2 separate regions of the Homo sapiens genome follow, and region 1 is linked to region 2. Evidence: promoter capture Hi-C in human tissues and cell types (Jung and others, 2019). All regions are on one chromosome and are shown on one strand. Each heading gives the region's core, a stretch centred on a gene start or on the middle of the fragment in contact. The rest is flanking DNA. Distances are from core to core; before and after follow the strand shown.

Evidence for each region. Contacts are between HindIII fragments. The study calls those that stand out against the background at their distance.
Region 1: a fragment that was not itself captured here is called in contact with the fragment with the promoter of SLC6A15 in region 2 in 3 of the 25 tissues and cell types used here (H1 embryonic stem cells, dorsolateral prefrontal cortex and thymus).

The regions. Positions count from the first base shown.
Region 1 is chr12:84,997,954-85,002,180 of GRCh38, reverse strand. No RefSeq gene overlaps it. Among named protein-coding and RNA genes, the nearest start is that of TSPAN19, 36 kb to the left of the region's middle. The HindIII fragment of the contact is 5,883 bases long and covers 1-4,227 here.
Region 2 is chr12:84,911,511-84,915,410 of GRCh38, reverse strand. SLC6A15 (solute carrier family 6 member 15) reads left to right here and starts at 2,612. Exons shown (of 12, transcript NM_182767.6): 1 at 2,612-2,888. LOC102724680 (a long non-coding RNA gene) reads right to left here and starts at 2,574. Exons shown (of 4, transcript XR_945154.3): 1 at 2,507-2,574; 2 at 549-654. RefSeq lists enhancers at 1,851-2,397, 2,398-2,945, 3,494-3,900. The HindIII fragment of the contact is 2,941 bases long and covers 524-3,464 here.

The sequences.
Region 1 (4,227 bases), core at 1,566-4,065, 87 kb before region 2:
GTTTCTTTCAGTGAGAGAGTTGCTTCCCAGCTGTGTCTAATAGGCCGTCTTGTCTCTTCATACCACTCCTATTTCATTCCAGCATCAGATCAGTCACATCTGAGCACGTTAGATTTTTTTTGTAAAAATGTCCTATTGCTTTCCATGCGTTGGTTCATTCTGTTTCCATTGCTTAAAGTGCCTCCTACAAATCTGTTGGTAGAAACCTAATGTCCTTTACAGACCACTGAGAAGCAGAAAAGTGGAGTGATCAATACGTAATTTTGGAGTCAGATGCCCTTGGTTCAAATCATGCCACTTATTATGTGATGTTAAGCAAGTTTCTTCACCTTTCTGTAGTTCAGTTTCCTTATTCAAAATATACATATAATAAAAAGTAACCCTATGAATTAGGTATTACTATGTTAGGATTAAATGCTTTGATGTTTACAAAGTATTTAAGAATGTGACCTAATGCCTTGTAAAGGAATATTATTCACATATTGGTAAAATAAACAAATTATACTGAATTCCAAATTGCTCTGAGGAATATAGTATATTGGTATTTTAATTGCTCTGAGGAATATTCATGATATGCCAGTCACTGGAATCCATGAAGTAAGGGTGACAGAGTAGACTTTGAGAGAGAAGTGTTTTCATGTCTTAAGAAGCTGGACTGAACTGGTCTCCTAGTCTCCTGGAACAGCTTAAATGGGGTAAGTTACTACTGTGCCTGATTTCAGGAACACCTCAGAGGGACATTCTTTTAAAAAGTCTAGAATAATTTCACACAAAAATCCATCAAATTCTACCAGTCACCTCAAAATGAACTGTGAACAAAACAGACACAGCATTAGGAAGTTTGCTTTTCAGGTATGTCGGAGTTTGCAAGAAAAAAAAATACTTTTAGTGTTTACCTCTGAATTTACCAGTGTTTGACTTTGAGTTATATTATTTTCTTCTAAATCCAACCAGCTAGGGTGATTGGGCCTCTTGGTCCTCTGAACTCAGAGGGCTTAAAATGAGACTAGAAAAATATGTTGGTATCTCCCCACACTTCCACCCTGCCTCTAAGTGCCCCATAGAAACACTTTTTTTACTCTGTAGTCCTCCAGTCTATTGAGCCCTCCACATCCTCGCTAATCATACTGCCAACTAAAGAATGACAGGTTCATAAATTTGGAAAGCAGAGCTTTATTTCTTATAAAGGGTTGCAGCCTGCAAGTGGCCATTTTCACAGCCTGGGAAGCATAGCCTCTGGGCAGAGGCCAGAAACAGGCACTTGAGGAGGCTCAGAAGAATAAGACAGATGTATGCTGAATGGGTGGCTACATATACATATTCAATGAGCTATAGAAGGAGTCATGAATGTCATAAATATTTCCAAAAGGAGAAACGTGCACAGGCACAATTGGGCCTCATGCCTCTTCATGGGTCCAAGGGTGGAGTTTTTGGCTGTCTAAAAAACATGAAAGAGAAGACAGGAAGATACTTAATGTGGATCCTCTGTAGACTGTCCAGAATCACTCCATAGTTGCTGGTCTCTTATTAAGAAGGAATGCAGGTCAGTAGTGTTGAAACTGCAAAAGGGAAGAGCAGCAGTTGAAATCAGAACCAGTTTAAATCAGTCGGTTGAAATCGGAGATGGAGTCTTTTGAAAGGGATGACTTCTCTTTATCCCTTAGGAAAGAAAGCCTAATAGTGGATAGCAAATTAGGGATTATAATGAGGCATGCCCAACCTCCTATGCCATCATGGCTGGAACTCAGCTTCCAAGGTTTCTCTGGGGTCCCTTTGGCCAAGAAGAGATATGTTAGGGGTGCTTAGAATTTTTTTTTATTTGTCAACACCAACCTCCTGTCCTCATCTCTTTTTTAACTTAGATTCAGGATTCATTAGTAACATCTTTCAACCACCCTTCTCTCACTCTTGATTTCAGTAGCTAAGTCTACGCTGACTCTGGCGTAGTTGAAGTTTGCTGGATAAAATATTACAACTGCACAGAACAGAATAAAATTACGATAACTGACATTAAATCAACACTATTTCCTGACAATACTAGTGGATTTCTGATAAGGTCCATCTCTTACAGGGAATATTACTGTCAGTAGGGTTTGAGAAGTGGACTTTATAGGATTTGTAAAAACGATAATAAATAATGAATATGTAAATACATGTTCCCTGTTTATTGACTTAGTGGAAGCCTATTTTTATCCTTAGGCCAGTATGTTATAGCAGAAAAACACCACACAGTTATGAACTAAATGACCTGAATTTGAGCCCTGGATCCACTTCTAGACTCTTGAGTCACATAATTGCTTGAGCCTCAGAAGCTTCTTCCCACCTAACTTACTTCAAATGACTCCAATGGCATATGAAATGTTTTGGAAGTACTCTGTCCTTACTGCAGAATAAGGTGCAGAAGGAATTCAGGTATGGCTGTCTTCATGTGCAGCTGCAATTCTCTCAGTCTTCAACTATGAGCTATGAACAGCAGCAACTCTAATTTAAAAGCTGTTTAAAAATATCTCTCTTCACAAATCTTTCATTAAAGTGTCTCCCAAAAGCTCAGTGCATTCCATAAAATTCTTCTTAAATCCTTGCTATACTTTAATGAAAAAATGCCAAGGGAAAATTTATTTTTTCTTTAAATATCATTGTATTAGATTTGGACTTGAGATACATTTTTTGCTTAGATTTTTTTAGTTCCTGAAATTTTATTATGGTGTTTATGTTGTTGTTCCATTTCAGCACAAATTGTCTAAAACCAACTGGGTGCACTGCAATTCAATTCTGCAGCTGACCAATTGGAGTTAGCACAGATTCCACAAATTATAAGACTTGGTCCCTAAGAAGGCTGCCCTGACTTGATACACTACAGCCACACTTTAGAGTTATCAGGAGACACTCATACTTCTTATGACTGACTGGCTATAAATTCAGAGGTTTCCATGACTCTAAATCAGTTTTGATAACTTGCTAAAAGGACACAGAAATCAGGAAAGCACTATACTTATGATTACAGTTGTATTACAAAGGACATAAGTCAGGAGAGCCAGCCAAATGAAGAACACATACAGTGCAACCTAGAAAGAAACACAAGGCTTCTATGAACTCATCCTACGGAATCAGAGCACATCACCCTCCTGCCACATCAGTGTATTTACCAACCAGGAAGATAATCAATTTTTGATGTCCAGAGTCATTATTGCAGTTTCATTAAGTAGGTATTATTGGTTAAATCATTGAGCACCTGATTGAATTCAACTTCCAGCCTTTCTTTTTTCCCCTGATGTTGGAACTTGGGCTGATACCATGTGAGTCAAAGCTCCAATACCTTTATCACATGGTTGGTTTTTTGGCAGTGGCTTATGCCCATCACAAATCATCTGGCTAACAGAAGCCAATAGTAATGACCATCATGGGTCATCTCATTAACATAAATTATCAAAGCCTGCTGTGAATAACAAAGAAATACTATCACTTGGAAAATCCCAATAATTTATTGTTTCCTAGGAACCAGAGGCAAATGCCAGTCAAATTCTTTATAATTTAACAGCTATTTTTTTTATTACTAATAGAAATGCCCATAAACAGGTGGGATTTATTGGTATATGAATGTAACATAGACAGCACATAATATTTACTACTATGTGTTGGCTGACAGTTCATATAAATCAAAGTAGCTTGGTCTGCAGCTCTATACTCCATCAATTCTGTCACCTCTCTAGGCAGTTATTTAAATTTAATTCCTCAGGTTTTTTTAAATAATGACAATAAAATATCTACCTCCTTATTAATTATTTGTTACCCATCCTGGCCTTTGTTAGTTTCTAGGCTCTATCAAGGCTCCCCTTCCCTCCAAAAATTAGAGAAAAATATGTCCAACTATGTTGAGTTTTTGAGGGAATGAGAAATAAGTATTAGGATCCAGTATGCACTGAGTGGCCAGCCACAAGTGCATCTGGTGAGGGAAAGGTAAAAGGAAGCTCTTATTGGTAACATGGGAAAAGTTCACATAAGCTACTTATAAACAGAGTTTATTCGTTCTAGAGACTCAAAGACAGAGTTGTTGTCAGTTCATTGGCAGAGATGCCATTACTGGGCAAATATTCTTTCCAGAACATCTTATCCGAATTACTACAGTCCTAAAGAAAATCTAGTAATAAGTCTTGTCATAGGAGTATATGAATATGTGTGAAACATACACGCTGTGGAAAACAGGAAACATGTGAAAGATGTGAAAGG
Region 2 (3,900 bases), core at 1,363-3,862:
TCATGTGATCTTTTATCAAATTTTAAAAATAATAAGTGTAACATTAATTGCTTAAAAGTAGGTATCAATTTCAGAAAGTGATTTAGATAGGGCAGGTTTTTATTTTTACAATATCTAACAGATGCCTTTTGACGGTATGACCTTGGACAATCAAAGCTTCAGTTTCTTTTCTGGCAATGTTTTGTAAAAACTAGACCTACATCACAGGCTTGGTGTAAGAATTAAGAAGTATATATTCATAAAATATAGAAATTATTCTGTACATTGCAAAGACACATAGTTAACATTAATCAATCCTTGTTAATATTATTAAATACAGTGTGGCTGGAAGCACTAGTCTCCCTTAACTTGTAGTTAATTCTTCCAAGTTCTGTTTTTTTCCTTTCTGTGTGCTGCCTCTTCCTCCCACACCAATCCCATGTTGGCCATTTTGCCCTATGGTGACAGAGAAAGAACTCTGTAATCATTACCCTAAAATATATTAGCAATTGAATTTTAAATCTTTGAAGACTCATTGTTGTTAAATTTTAAAAATGAATACATTTTACCTTTGGCTAGGGTTCCCAGACTCTCCTTTTGAGGTCTCTCCATTCTTCATCTATTTATTGTTTTCAAAGTTGCCTACCACTTGTGTTGAGATTCCACCCTTTCCTCCTGTTAAAATAGATAATTTGTTAAAGGGTTACAGGATAGTATAAAAGCACATGAAGTTTGAGGCCAGCATATCTGAATTTATTTCTCCATTCTGTCATTGAACAAGTTTTCTGACTTTTTGCAATTTTTTTTGAGTATCACCTCTCTCTAATCTCTAAATTAGGAAAAATCACCTCATTAATTAGTTGAGAGGATTAAATAAGATATTATTAAGCCCCAGGTACTTAGTGGGAAGCTTAAAACAATAGTTGCTTTCTCCTACTTCTCTTCATTGGCATTGAGACATAAATTAGTATCAGTCATTATGGAGGGCATCGCTCTACAAATATTTTGTGACCTATGCATATGTATTGGAATTAGGTATCAGACACTAGTGAAAAAGCGTGGGAGAGAAATAATTTTCGTACTTCTTGGTACTACCGTAAACGATTTCTGCCAGCATATGGATAACTTTGTTTCCCACAGATAATCCTAATCCTGATCATGGTGGACACAGCTCTCCTTATTTTCCTAAAATTTTCTCAGTTGTTATTGATAATGTTGGTACTGTATTTCAGTTTCTTTATATATCAACATTAAATATTTGCCTGTCACCAAAATGTGAAGTAAAAAGCAAAAAAAGTCCTATAAAAGGTTTATTTTGACTGTTTTTATTTTTTCACGTGGCGCATCTATCAAAGAGCATTTATTTACTCATGGCAGGGGAGGCGTATCAGGGAATCAAATCTAATTTAATTTCTTAACTTTTAATTTTTCAAAGTTGGGATTGGAAGAGAGGCTGAGAAAAAACTCTCTTGGCTGTTTTAAAAGCTAAGGATTAGTAGCAATGTTCTGACCTGAAATTTAGGTCTTGTGATTTCTTTCCAAGAGATTTTTCACTGCATGAAAAACCTGTTTGCAATGGCCTTTTTAATTTAATTCAATCTTAATTGGATACGAACCGTAAAAATCTAAGGGATTGTTAAAAGGCCTAAAAGTGCACAAAAGTAGTTTTTAAGAGTAATATTAATAATCTGGAAGTGAAAAATTAACTTTGCTAAATTACTGAACCTTTCTACCTAGCTTCTAGGTTCATTTTGTATTTCTTTCAAATTTTGAACGTTTCAAGGACGGAAAATTTCATCCTTAGAGCATACGCACTGTTTAGGGGACGGTTCAGCCATTTTCAAAAGGAGGCTAAGCTTTGTGTTCAGAGGTGTATATTTTAGGAATTCTCCACGTGGCTTAATTACGAGCATGCCTTGATTGTTAGCAGAGGTAAGTCAGGCTTCATCTTGTAATGAGACCCCTTGGAAAAAAGTCTGCTGCTGAGGCACCAACACAGGGTGGGTGAGGGCCAGCTTTCTAAAACGGCCTTTCATAACCTGGCGAGAATCACTGAGCGCTATGAGGCCACCGCCTGACGGAGAAGCCAATGCCCAGAGGCTTTTTCTTTCGCAAGAGATGTAAATGGCCGGCTTGGGGGAATAGGTAGGGAAAAGGGTTCTTTGGGTCACCCATTTTTTCTAGTCCCATTACTGACTCTTGGAGAATATTCAGATGGTGCCAGGTAGCACCATGCCTATTATTATTCTCACTGAGACAAAAGTCAGCGGCTGGTAACTGGTGTCCATTCTTTCGCTTGAGTGGGTTGGAGAAAGACGGCATGGCTGGAGGAATTTGTTTTGTTTTGCTTTGGAGCGGGCTTCCTCAGTTGCATCCTGCATCGGGCGGGCACAGCCCCGGGCTCTGGGAAGACGCCGCTCGGCAGCCGCAGTGGCCGCTGCATCAATGGGTTTTGGGGCAGGGAGGTGCGGAGCCCAGCCTGCGCTCCTGGCTACCCCTCCGCGCCCCGCCGCCGCCCACAGCCTACCCTTCTCCTCTGCAGCCGGTAGGCGGCCGTAACACGGGCGGGCCGAGCACGTGGGCGCCTCCGTCACACCCTCACACATACACACACGCGCGCGCGCACACACACATACGCATGTACACGCGCACCCGCACCCGCGCGCCTGTATCCCGTGCTGTTTCCCTGGCAGACACACAGGCGCTCACGAGTCTCTCCTTGCCAGCCTGCAGGGCGGCGACCCCCAAAACCCAGCTCCGGGTCCCAACCTAGGCAAGAAGCTGCTTCTCTGCCAACAGCTCCTCTTCGGCCTCCGTCACAGCCACCTGGACCCTACCCTTTCGCGACTGCTGCTGCTGCTGCCCGGACGTGGAAGCAGCAAGAGGCGCTTGGTCAAGACACACTGACGGTAATGGCAAGCGCCTACGCTAAGGGCACAACTGGGGGTGAGGTGGGGCTCGCCATTAGCCACCCAGGAGCCTGGGCACCAGCACCGGGAACGAATTGATGGATGGATGCCGGGAAGGACTCGCTGCGTCCTGGGGTGGGAGGAGGGAGGGCAGCTCAAAAGCCCTGGGAGGGAGAAGCTGGGCTGGGCGGGCAACCGTCTAACTCTGCATCTCTGTACAATCAGGGTGGGGGGCGACAGGCTGCACATGTAAGGGGAAGCACATGGGTTGAAACGTGCCGCCATCCTTTCTTCCCGTCGTGGAAATTGCCCACAGCATCCCCAGAGACCTACTCGTTTCCAAGCCAAGTCGGGGTTGGTTGAAGGGTGGGGTCCAACACGGGAAAGTCCAAGAGGAAAGTTGGGAGGGTTGGGGCAGAGAGAGACGCGAGGTGAATTGGAAGCTAAACCTCGTGCAGGTGGGCGATGGGGCGGGGAGAGCAGAGAGCTTTATTCCTCATTCGCTTCCGTTCGCTTTAGCAAAGGCAGAAGGCGACTACCGAGGACAGAGTGTTTTCACGTGACCACAGTTCCCCTTTGCTTGAGGTATCCTGTGATAAATGGCCCGAAAGGGGGCCTTTCGCCGTACGAAAGGCACGTGGCTGCTGGAGAAATCACGGCTCCTGTGTTTCTGCGCATCCTGGAATTTGAGAGTGTGGCGGTGAGGGTGGTGCTGCTGGGACTGTAAGAAGATGGGAAGCAGTTAGAAACCCAGATCGTTTCTACCTTTCTTTCACTAGGCTGGTCTGTGTGTGACTGGGAAGAAGACGGTATTGAGTACAGGGAAATCCTTGCACTCTAACGTAGCGCACCAACTGGATACATAAGAATGAATCAAGACGCCCGAGGCGTTCGGGAACAGGCATGACCCACCCAGTGGCACAGGCTGCGGGAACGGGAATTATTTTTCCTGAGCTGAGAAGCAGCCTTTGATGTGCGTTTTAGGAAGCAAAGCCCCCAGGCTCGCGCTCTC